2 separate regions of the Homo sapiens genome follow, and region 2 is linked to region 1. Evidence: promoter capture Hi-C in 16 types of primary human blood cells and fetal thymus (Javierre and others, 2016). All regions are on one chromosome and are shown on one strand. Each heading gives the region's core, a stretch centred on a gene start or on the middle of the fragment in contact. The rest is flanking DNA. Distances are from core to core; before and after follow the strand shown. Region 1 holds the start of SLC35D3 (solute carrier family 35 member D3). Region 2 holds the start of OLIG3 (oligodendrocyte transcription factor 3).

Region 1 (5,632 bases), core at 2,029-4,528:
TCAGGAGTGACCGTCATCACTTCTGCCAGGTTCTGTTAGCTACACAGACCAACCCTGGTACAGCGTGGGAGGAGTTAACATAAGGGTGTGAATACCAGGAAGCGGGTATCACTGGAGACTATCTAGAAGGCTAATTACCATAATACGCTTTTTAAAGTAGGAAATTATAGACAAATATATATGATATCCTAGTTTTGTTATTTTTTTAAAGGAGGAGTTTGCGTGTGTATAAACATACATACAAAAAAGACTGAAAGTTTCCACACTGAACACAGCAAGCTCTGTGTAGTAAGGTTGGGGATGGTGAACACTGAAGAGAGCGCGTTTACTTAATTATAAATTTGTTTTTCTTTTATGTACCACAATGAGCCTGTGTTACTTTTATAATTAGAAATAATGAAGTAAGTTTTCAAAGACACTGTAATTCCTTCTCCAGGAAGCTTTGTCTGCTACTGCTGTCAAGCTGATGTACTTGCCCTCCTGGCGCTCCCCCCTTTTCTGCCACACAATCCCACTGTTGCTAAGGATGAAGGCGCTGTGTTCATCTTTAAGTCCTCTGTGGCTAACAGAATACTTAGCACAAAATACTTGTACTATATGTTTGTTGAATGAATGGATAAACTAAAGGATTTATTTAATGTCATTAATATTTATTAAGTAGCTCCAAAGGTGATGTGCTTGAGTCTAGACCCTTGGTACCCTGATACCAATAGGTCAAATAGCTATTTAACCTTTAGATCTACATTTTTATTCATCTAGATCATTTAACCTCGCTAAACATGGTATTCTTAATTTTTCACAATTTTTAAAAGGAGCTCATCTAGTATCTGGTTTTGTGGGAGATGGGGGTTAAGGTTTTTTTCTTTCCAAAAGAATTGCATGCAACAAAGTGGAGAAAATGTGCGGTTTTATGCCTCTGTAGGTTTCAAATATTAAGCTAAATTGTCTTGCATAAATGAGAAGAGTAAGATAGCTGAATCAGCCCCAAATCTTTTACCTAATGTTAGTATCACAAATGGATGCAATTATAATTGCGGGCAGAAATGAATCATTCCAAAAGTAGGTTTGTGCAGCCACTTCTTTATATTAATAATATGCACTTAGGATGGCTTAAAGCAGCCATGCTTTTATTGGGATAGTCTCTAGAAGCAGAAATCTGTTATTTGCTGATATCTGTAAAAAGTTAATTTTCAGAGTTTTGAATCAATATATTTTGACTATACCACACACATACACATAATTTGAACTGGTGCTTCAGACTTCATTATTTCCTAAATAACATTAACTCTACAAAAACAGAGTCACTTAAACAGCCAATAGTGTGTAACCACAAGTTTTAGCAACAAAAACCAAGGGCTCCCCAGAGAACCGGAAGCACGTGTTTCAGTATAATGCTTTCCAGCTATTCCTGGAAAGTTGGCACCCTGGGCCATTCACAAACTTTTTTTGAGTGCCCACCTGTCGGGAGCAGGGACGTGGCCCTCCTAGGCACCGGGCACATAAGCTGGTGGACTGGTTGACCCCGAGCTCTCTAGAGCTCACCAAAGTGAGCATCCAGAGCCCCAAATGCTGGCCCAAATGAAGGGCTGCTGTGATGCTGCTGATCCCTGCTGTAATTTTTTTTTCTTCCTCTGTTGCGGTAAATCACGACTTCAGCACTTTGGCTGAAGTGTCGCGTTCAGCACAGAGGTGGAAGTAAGAGGCAGAAAACAGAAGAACCACGAGAGAAATGGATCCTGTCTATTAAGGCAACGTGATGCAGCGCTAAAAGGTTAGGAGGTTACGATTCCCGGGGCTAAGAGAAATAAACTGCTGGTGGTGAACGAAAGGGGTGCTGGAGCGCAGCGATCTCGAACCTTTCCCTTATAGCCAAACCCTGGCCAAGGCCACAAATTTCAAATCGCCTGAAAACCAAACTGTCTGGCGCTTAACGGTTACCTCGGCTGAGCGAAACCCTTGGCTGCTGCTGATTTAACTACAGGTCCGCGCGAGTTACTTTCCAGGGAACTGAATTCAGAACAAAGAGTTACCGAAGCCTTACTCCCTCTCCAAAATTAGAATTCCCTTTTTCTCTTAGTCATATAGGAAACACACAGTTCACAAGTCCTGTGGTGCAAAGGTGTGAACCCTGGCCCAGGGAGGTGGTGACTCTCCCCGCCCTCCGCCTGCCGGTTGTCCTGCTTCCGAAAGCAACCCACGACGGTCCCGCAGGGTGAGGGTTCCCTGGGATCAGTTCCCTGGGATCCGGAGAACGCCACGCGGAGTCTCCCTGCAGGGTGAGGGGCCCCGGGTTCCCGCCCCCTCCCCCTCTACTCTCCCATTCTGCGAGCGCAGCCAGCCTCCCCTCCCACGCTTCGGGAAGCGTCGCCCCCGAGCTCCTCGGTTCCTGGTGGTGGCTACTCGTGTTAGTGACTTCGTTTCTGCGCGTTTGCTTATTTTCATCTTTGCCTCAGTTCGAATGTGTCCCCGCCACCAGGCCCCGCTGCTGGGCGAGACCACTGAACCCCCTGAAAGCTTCCCCGGAGCCGCGCGCATAATCCCGGGACCCTCTCTGGAAGGCGTGCGGAGAGCGGTGCGCGTGGCCTGGCACCGGAAGGAGCCAGCTTCCGGGCTCCGAGGCACCCCCTGGACAGCGCCCCGGGCCGCGGGTTCCTCCTCCGATGCCCGGGCGTCGTCGCCGGGATCGGGAGCTTCGGGGGCCCGCCGGCACCGACGGTTTTCGCTTCCCTGGCGGGCAGCTGGACGAGGTCCCGCCGCTGCACCGGGAGGGACAGTGGGTGGAAAAAGCCGCTGCAGCGCCGGGGCGAGGGGGCTGGGGGCGCCGTCACTTGTTGCGACCAATAAACGGCGCTCGATCCTGATGCGCTGTTTCTAAAATCTTTAGCTGTGTCCCGATCCCTCCAACCCAAGCCCCTCGGCCAGGAGGAAGGGGCAAGCGAGAGCCGCTGGCTCTGTGGGGGGAGAGGGGCGCCGCGCCCCAAGAGCCCCCGTCCCGCCCTGCGGCAGCCGCCCCGGGGCGCCCAGCCGCCCGCTTCCCTCCGCAGAGCGTCTTCCCTGACGGTGAAACCGCGCGGGACACAACCCACCGCGGCTCATCACCCACTTACAAATAGCTGTCGCTAGGATTCCCGCCACTCCTCTCAGACCGGCCCCCCCGCCACCTCTGCCACTTTTCGGAGTCCCCCGCCCTCGTCACTGCCTCCCCGGAGCTGCGGGGCAGTCGGACGCAGAGCTGCCTAACCGCAAGAACGCCTGGCCGGAGCTGCCCTCTGCAGCCGAGCCGGCGCCCCCTGCCCTTCGCCGCCGCGCTGGGCGGGCGCCCCCGCCGCCCTCACTCCGCTGCTCCCGGCTCCTCGCGCGCAGGTCGCGGAGCTCCGCCACCGCTGGGTGCGGCGAGGCCGGCGCGATGCGGCAGCTGTGCCGGGGCCGCGTGCTGGGCATCTCGGTGGCCATCGCGCACGGGGTCTTCTCGGGCTCCCTCAACATCTTGCTCAAGTTCCTCATCAGCCGCTACCAGTTCTCCTTCCTGACCCTGGTGCAGTGCCTGACCAGCTCCACCGCGGCGCTGAGCCTGGAGCTGCTGCGGCGCCTCGGGCTCATCGCCGTGCCCCCCTTCGGTCTGAGCCTGGCGCGCTCCTTCGCGGGGGTCGCGGTGCTCTCCACGCTGCAGTCCAGCCTCACGCTCTGGTCCCTGCGCGGCCTCAGCCTGCCCATGTACGTGGTCTTCAAGCGCTGCCTGCCCCTGGTCACCATGCTCATCGGCGTCCTGGTGCTCAAGAACGGCGCGCCCTCGCCAGGGGTGCTGGCGGCGGTGCTCATCACCACCTGCGGCGCCGCCCTGGCAGGTGAGCGGGCCCCCGCGCCGACCCCCAGCCGACCCCACCCACCCCGCTCCGTCGGGCAGAGACCGCGGGGATCACTGAGTTCAACGACCTCACTTCCAGATGGGGAGACTGAGGCAGAGAGAGCCGGAGAGCTTTGAGAGTGGTCGCTCAGCTCGCAAAAGGGACTTCCGAGACCCAGAGAGCTCCCCAGCGCCCCACCAAGTCCCCCTGCCCCCTAATGTCCTGGCTTCCGACCCTCGCCCATGCTTCACCCGGCATCGCCCTTCCTGTCGCCCCCTCTCCTGGTCTTCCCCTGTCACCCCATTCTCCGGGAGAGGTGGGAGGGCCGCCTGAGCCTGGGAGCTGGAGTCCTCCAAGCCTGGACCAAGCCGGAAGGAGGGGGCCGTGAACTTCCTTGGGTCACGAGGGGCTGGAATGGAGGTGGGGGATGGGGGCGAAGCTGAGGGTTCCCGGGGCTACTGCGGGGTGTCTCGTGCTGCGCAGGGGGCTGCGGCCCTGGGGCAGACGACCCAGGTGCTGAGCGAGACGAGAGCCTGGGCAGGGGGAAGCTTCACTGGGGGCCAGAACAGGCGTTCTCCCCCGCGCCTGGCCCGCTCCGGGTTGCAGGCCACTGGCTGGGGCTCCCTCTCCCTTTGGTGCCCCACGGGGCAGGGGCTCCGGGGTGCAGGTACCACGCGCCCAAGTGACCTCGGTGCCAGCTCGGGGAAGCCACAGCACCTGCCCCGAGGGCATCTGCGCTCTCCGGGGCCTTTGTCTTGGACAGAGGAAGATGGAGTGACCCGGGGATATGGCGGGAAGGCGCTCTGAGCACTGAGTTTGGCTGTCGCATTTGACACGGGTGGCCGAGGGACGGCGGGCGTCTGTCACTCAGGAATCCGGTGGGCAGAGCTGGGGCGCGAACCCAGTCTCCTTTCCTACCCGACGCGTTTTCCCCGTGGGTCCCCGCCCACGCCAACCTGCTGTCTTCTCTCTTTTTCCTTCCCGCCCGGGCTCGGCCGTCCTCCTCGTGCGCCGCAGGAGCCGGCGACCTGACGGGCGACCCCATCGGGTACGTCACGGGAGTGCTGGCGGTGCTGGTGCACGCTGCCTACCTGGTGCTCATCCAGAAGGCCAGCGCAGACACCGAGCACGGGCCGCTCACCGCGCAGTACGTCATCGCCGTCTCTGCCACCCCGCTGCTGGTCATCTGCTCCTTCGCCAGCACCGACTCCATCCACGCCTGGACCTTCCCGGGCTGGAAGGACCCGGCCATGGTCTGCATCTTCGTGGCCTGCATCCTGATCGGCTGCGCCATGAACTTCACCACGCTGCACTGCACCTACATCAATTCGGCCGTGACCACCAGCTTCGTGGGTGTGGTGAAGAGCATCGCCACCATCACGGTGGGCATGGTGGCCTTCAGCGACGTGGAGCCCACCTCTCTGTTCATTGCCGGCGTGGTGGTGAACACCCTGGGCTCTATCATTTACTGTGTGGCCAAGTTCATGGAGACCAGAAAGCAAAGCAACTACGAGGACCTGGAGGCCCAGCCTCGGGGAGAGGAGGCGCAGCTAAGTGGAGACCAGCTGCCGTTCGTGATGGAGGAGCTGCCCGGGGAGGGAGGAAATGGCCGGTCAGAAGGTGGGGAGGCAGCAGGTGGCCCCGCTCAGGAGAGCAGGCAAGAGGTCAGGGGCAGCCCCCGAGGAGTCCCGCTGGTGGCTGGGAGCTCTGAAGAAGGGAGCAGGAGGTCGTTAAAAGATGCTTACCTCGAGGTATGGAGGTTGGTTAGGGGAACCAGGTATATGAAG
Region 2 (5,137 bases), core at 99-2,598, 570 kb after region 1:
TTGACAAGAGCATATGGCAGTGAAAAATACTGGCGCGGCATGGGGAAAAGAAGCATGCATGCAAAACACACGACATCTGGTTCGAGTCCCCCTTTGCTACCACCTAGAAATTGCGGTTTGATTTTGGTCCTTTCCCTCCGGGGGTCAAGTGGAGTCTGAGATCTCTCAGACAGCGTGGGAGGCTGCGGGCCCCGGAGCCTGCCCTCCCGTGGGCCGAGCGTGCAGCCTCCCTCTTCCCTCCCGGCCCGGCACCGCGGCCCCTCCCGCCGCTCTCCCTCCTCCTTGGCAGCCGGGCCCGCCCGCTGCTCACTTGAGCAAGTCCTTGGACTCGGCCGACAGCCGGGCCATGTTGGCTGTGGAGAGAGCGGACAGGTGCGGCGGCGGCGGCATCTGGCAGATGGTGCAGGGGCAGGGCAGACCAGCCCAGTGCTGGAAGCCGCTGCCCAGCTGCAGCGCGGGCGGCGTGGAGGGCGCCTTGAGTAGCGAGTGGGGAGGCCGGATGGTGCCGATGGCGGGAAGTGAGGCGGCGGACAGCGGTGACGAGGCGTTGCCAGATGAGAGCGCGCCGCCCAAGATGGGGTGCACCGGGTGCACGGAGTTGGCCGCGTGCGCGGGGTGGCCGGCCGAGTGGCCCACGGTCCCGCAGTGAAAGGCCGAGTGGTGGCCCCCATAGATCTCGCCAACCAGCCTCTTCATCTCCTCCAGGGAGCTGGTGAGCATGAGGATGTAGTTTCTGGCGAGCAGGAGTGTGGCGATCTTGGAGAGCTTGCGCACCGACGGCCCATGCGCGTAGGGCATGACTTCGCGCAGCCCGTCCATGGCTAGGTTCAGGTCGTGCATCCGCTTGCGTTCGCGTCCGTTGATCTTCAGCCTCAACTGCTGTAGGTCCTGCTCCGACAGCTGCTTCTTGATTTTGTACTTGCTGCTCTCTCCCGCGGCCTTGGCGCCAGCCCGCGAGAGGCTTTCCCCGGGCATCTTCTGCATCATATCGCCCTGCGTGGACGAGACCGAGTTGAGACGGCTCTCCTGGTGGTGGTGGTGGCGGTGGTGGTGGTCCCTCAGGTACATCTCATCCATGTCCGGAGATGAAGCTCTGCTGGAGACAGAGCTCGAATCAGAATTCATTTTATTACAGGGGATGCGGCCCTACCGTGGGGAGGCTTTAGGCGGGAAATTAAAGAAAATCTTGAATTAAAAAAAAAAAATCTGCACTGCCCAGGAACCCACTTCTCCGCGGCAAGACGTGAGAAGAAAAGCGGAGACGCTGCTTTTCCCCGCCTCTCTCCCTCCCACGCCCCTCTCTCTGGTTAGGCTGCTTCCTGGACAGCTAGTTGGTGTGTGCTTGAACTAACCTCACGCTGAAAAAGAGGGGCTTTTATAGAGCTGCGGCGGAGAAAAGAGACAAAAGGAGCCCTCCTATCTATCCTGGGCTGGTTAGGATGACGTGCCATCATTCAGGGCGGTGCGCTTTGCTGTCCCATTTAGCAAGGATTCCTATTCATATTCATTGTGGGGCCGCCCTGGGACACCTCTGCTCCGAACCGCTAGGAGCCCCCAGGCACAAAACCCTCTGATTGACACACTCACCGCTCCAGCTTACGCCTTCCTGATTTTTTTTTTAACTTTCTTCCACCCCACCCCCCTTCCCAATTTCTCTAACCAAATCACACATCAGGAACGGAAGGAAGGCAAGAGAAGGTGGCCAGGCGGTTGGTGGAGGTTCCTCTGAGTTTGGAGAGAGGAATTGAAACATTCGCTCTCCTTTCTTTCCTGGCTGCTCCCAAGTTTAGAGAAATATGGGCAAAAATAGGTCTCAGTGGAAAGGTTTGAGGGACAGAGGTGCGGTCGGAGGGAAGGTGCTGCCAGCGGGGGCTGGGGGTGGTGGGAAGACTGCATGCCGACTTTCTCTGTCTCAATATTTTTTTTTCATTAGATCTCTTTTCCTAAACACTTCCATTCTGTCAATTTTGTTTATTGGGCCCTTCTGGTGTGGTTTCAACGGGATGTCCATGTTCGGTGATGGCTTTGCTCCTGGCAGTATTGTGGCGGAGAGGTCTCTTATTTTCTGTGTCCTCTCTTTCGTTTTAAAACATGGATTTCTAAAAGAATTTCAGTTTTGCACAATTCTTTAACTTCCTAGACCAAAAACTGCGAAAAAAAAATGTTAATGTCACAAGAAAAGCAACTTGGGAGGATGGGAAGGAAAAGGAGCCAAGGAGGCAGAGAGAGAGATTGTTAGGTTCCTGAGAGCTCCAGAGAGATTGTTCCCACTCCAGGCTTCCTGGACCTTGGCGCTGGCGCAAAACGGTGGGACGGTCCGCGCCCGAAGCTCCGCCGGGCCTCCTCTGGCCGCTGTGCTGACGTGCCCCGAGCTCCGGGAACTCAGCGGCACCCCGGCCTGCGCGGGTGGGTCCACCAGGCTGGGGCCGCCGTACGGCGTCGGACAGGGAAATCAGAAGCTCATAATAAACTATCTGATGTCGGGGTGGTGGGGCGGGGGGGTGGGGTGCGTGGGCAAAGAAGCACGGGGGAAGGGAAACAACGAAAGGACCTAGAAAGCCCCTTGTGCGTGCCCGGGCACTGCGGTTCAGCGCAGAGTCGTTTCTGGGAATAAAGAGGAGGTCGGAGTTTGGAGCCTTCGGTGCGAGTGCGGAGGTGGGCGTAGATCTTTCTTCCCCCTTGCTGTGTTTTTGTGATCAAGACTTTAGCTCAGCAGCACGAGGGGCGGGAAGGCAGAAATCCCGGGAAGGGAGAGAGCCCCAGGAGTGGTCTCTAGAAGAACCCGGACACCGCCCCTCTCCCGGCTTGGTGGAACGGGAAACAAACGCTAGCTAGTGACTGAGAGTCTCGGTGGAAGTGTGAAATCGAATCAATCGCGGAACCTCGGGCACTTGGGGCCTCTTGCGCCGCTGAGTCACTTCGAAGAACAGGATGCCCCCCTTTCCCTTGACTCAAACCGAGCGGTCAGTGGGAGAGGGATGCGCGCCCAGGTCCGGAGTTTGCACGCTCTGAGGCTGTGCCCCACTGACAGTCACGCTGCGAAGGCAGCTCTGGCCAATACCAGAAGGATGGGCAAACGCAACATTGGCATGGATGCTTTTGCTACACCGAATTTTGTTTTTCTGTAATGGGGGAAAAATGGCCAACAGCCCTTCGTCAAGGCCAGGAAGTTAGTGCTCTTGCAGATTGGACAGGAGCCTCTTCTACCACCTTCATCTCGGTGGAAGGAAAGTTTCTTAATTCAAGAGGTTAGATTGGATGTGGAAAGACTAATGTCCAAAAGCATTCCTAATACCAAGCATAAAGAATGTTTCTTAATTCACCAGACTCGCCAATAAGATAGTGACATACACTAAGTCTTCCTGGTTATTTAAAAAAGGAGGGGAGGGGGGAAGTGCTCCAGAACTTGTGCAGTCCCAGGTGATGGGAGGAAGCTAGTGGCTAGTCCTAACGACAACCCTCTGCGACTCCCCTGCTGATCAAATGGGGTGAGGAGAGAGAGGCGGACGGGGGAGGGCATTGGGAGCGAGCACTGGACTGGACGAAGAGCAGCTTCCCCGCCCTGCGGACGGTGCACAGGTCTGGCCCCCGCCGTCCTCCTGAGCCACCTCCCTGACCCTAGGTCGTCGGCGGCGTCTGTCCTTCCCACACCCAGACTGAAAACGCTGCACCTGAGTTTTGATTTGGGGAAGTAGAATTGTCTGGTCAGAGCAGAAGGGTTGCAAATGAAGGAGTGGAAAAATCATGTTGCTACAAGATATTTTACCCTTTAAAAAAAGTCTTGATTTTCCCAGTGGACAATGTAAAATAAAGTTTTAAAATCTCCCCCAAATTAGTAACGAAGGTGGCAAGCCGTGGGCGGGGGGAGGGGAGGGAAGGAGGGTAGAGCAGCCCTCGAAATACAAGCTTGCGGGGCTGGAAGTCCGGGGCCAGGGTTCTGGGAGTCCAAACCAGAAGCCACTCTCCTTCAGCACAGCCTTTCAGCCGAGAGGGGGCTGACGCCTGCCGCAGCCGGTTCCGAGGGGGCTGCGATGGGCCGGGAAGGGGCGACTGGGCCTTTGCCCGAACAGACCAGGACATTCCCTTCCTTCTTCCCTAAGGGTTTTCAGCTCCAGTAACAGAGGTGCCTGAAATGGGAGATCTGCGGGGACCAGGCCGGGACTCCCTGGCTCCGAGGCCGGGACGTGGCGCGCCCTCCGCTCCTCGGTCACCCTCTGCTTTTTCGAAGGTCCGTAATGCGTGAGTGTGGGTGGTCCAAGGTTCAGGGCCTCCTTCCAGTAAGTACTTTTAGAAGCTAGTTCCCCCACTTCCCATCCGTTGCGGGGCTTGACAACTAGACGAGGGGAGTGAGTAAAGGTGCCACAACTTTGCTTACCGTAAAATGGGTTAATACTCGCCGGGGCCCAAAAGGCTGAGTCGCCCCGCACGTCTTGCTTCGTGGAGTCTCTTTTCGACCCCCGCCACCGCAGCTCAGTTCCTCGGATTGAGCCCTGAACCCGAGAAGGAGCAGGCCCGGAGCTCAGGAGGGCAGGCACACGGATTTCTTTCTGAGGGCTGACTACCAACGCCCACCCCAGACTTGTACGGAAGGAGAGAGTAAAGGAGTCGCCGCCTGGCCAAGGCTGCAGCAGCCTACAGAGGCTCAGCCGGAGACGCACCATGACCTTGGCCCTGGCCGAGACCCCTTTCGGAGGGCTCAGACCGGCGAGGAGCCGGAGCGAGCGACCCTGCTGCGGTGGCTCGGGCTGCGCTCTCTCGGGCCACACCCCGCGCCCTCGCGGCTGGGGCGGGCTGCGCCGCGGAGGCGGGGATCGTTCTCCGGCAACAGGTGCGTCCCAAGGCAGGCAGGCTACTTCCCTCCAAGCCTGTCTTGGCTCTGAGAAGAGCCTGGAGTTTCTCAGCCTTCCTACAACATATGAAAACAGCGGGTCGGCGCGTGGACCGGGGCAGAAGAGCCGTCCTGCTGTACCCGCGCGCCCAGGGCGCTCCGCGGGGACCGCGCACTCGGGAAGCTGTGCTGTGCTCAACACCCCCCTGTGCCTCCCAGATCACCAGGGATCGTCTCTTACCTGACACCCAGTGCGCGCCGCTCGGTGCCCGACGCCCACTGCTCCGCAGCCTTAGCCACCGAGTTCCT

The links. The method cuts DNA at HindIII sites, captures the fragments that hold promoters and counts their contacts. A CHiCAGO score of 5 or more calls a contact.
Region 2: a contact is called between the fragment with the promoter of OLIG3 here and the fragment with the promoter of SLC35D3 in region 1, in 16 of 17 cell types (fetal thymus, M0 macrophages, total B cells and 13 more). The highest score is 24.3, in fetal thymus.

What each region holds. Positions count from the first base shown.
Region 1 is chr6:136,919,023-136,924,654 of GRCh38, forward strand. It overlaps SLC35D3 (solute carrier family 35 member D3), which reads left to right and starts at 3,279. Exons shown (of 2, transcript NM_001008783.3): 1 at 3,279-3,845; 2 at 4,863-5,632. The coding sequence starts at 3,407. RefSeq lists an enhancer at 2,301-2,807. The HindIII fragment of the contact is 1,879 bases long and covers 2,513-4,391 here.
Region 2 is chr6:137,493,046-137,498,182 of GRCh38, forward strand. It overlaps OLIG3 (oligodendrocyte transcription factor 3), which reads right to left and starts at 1,349. Exons shown (of 1, transcript NM_175747.2): 1 at 1-1,349. The coding sequence starts at 1,125. The coding sequence ends at 307. RefSeq lists enhancers at 259-758, 2,440-2,973, 2,974-3,506. The HindIII fragment of the contact is 6,431 bases long and covers 1-3,904 here.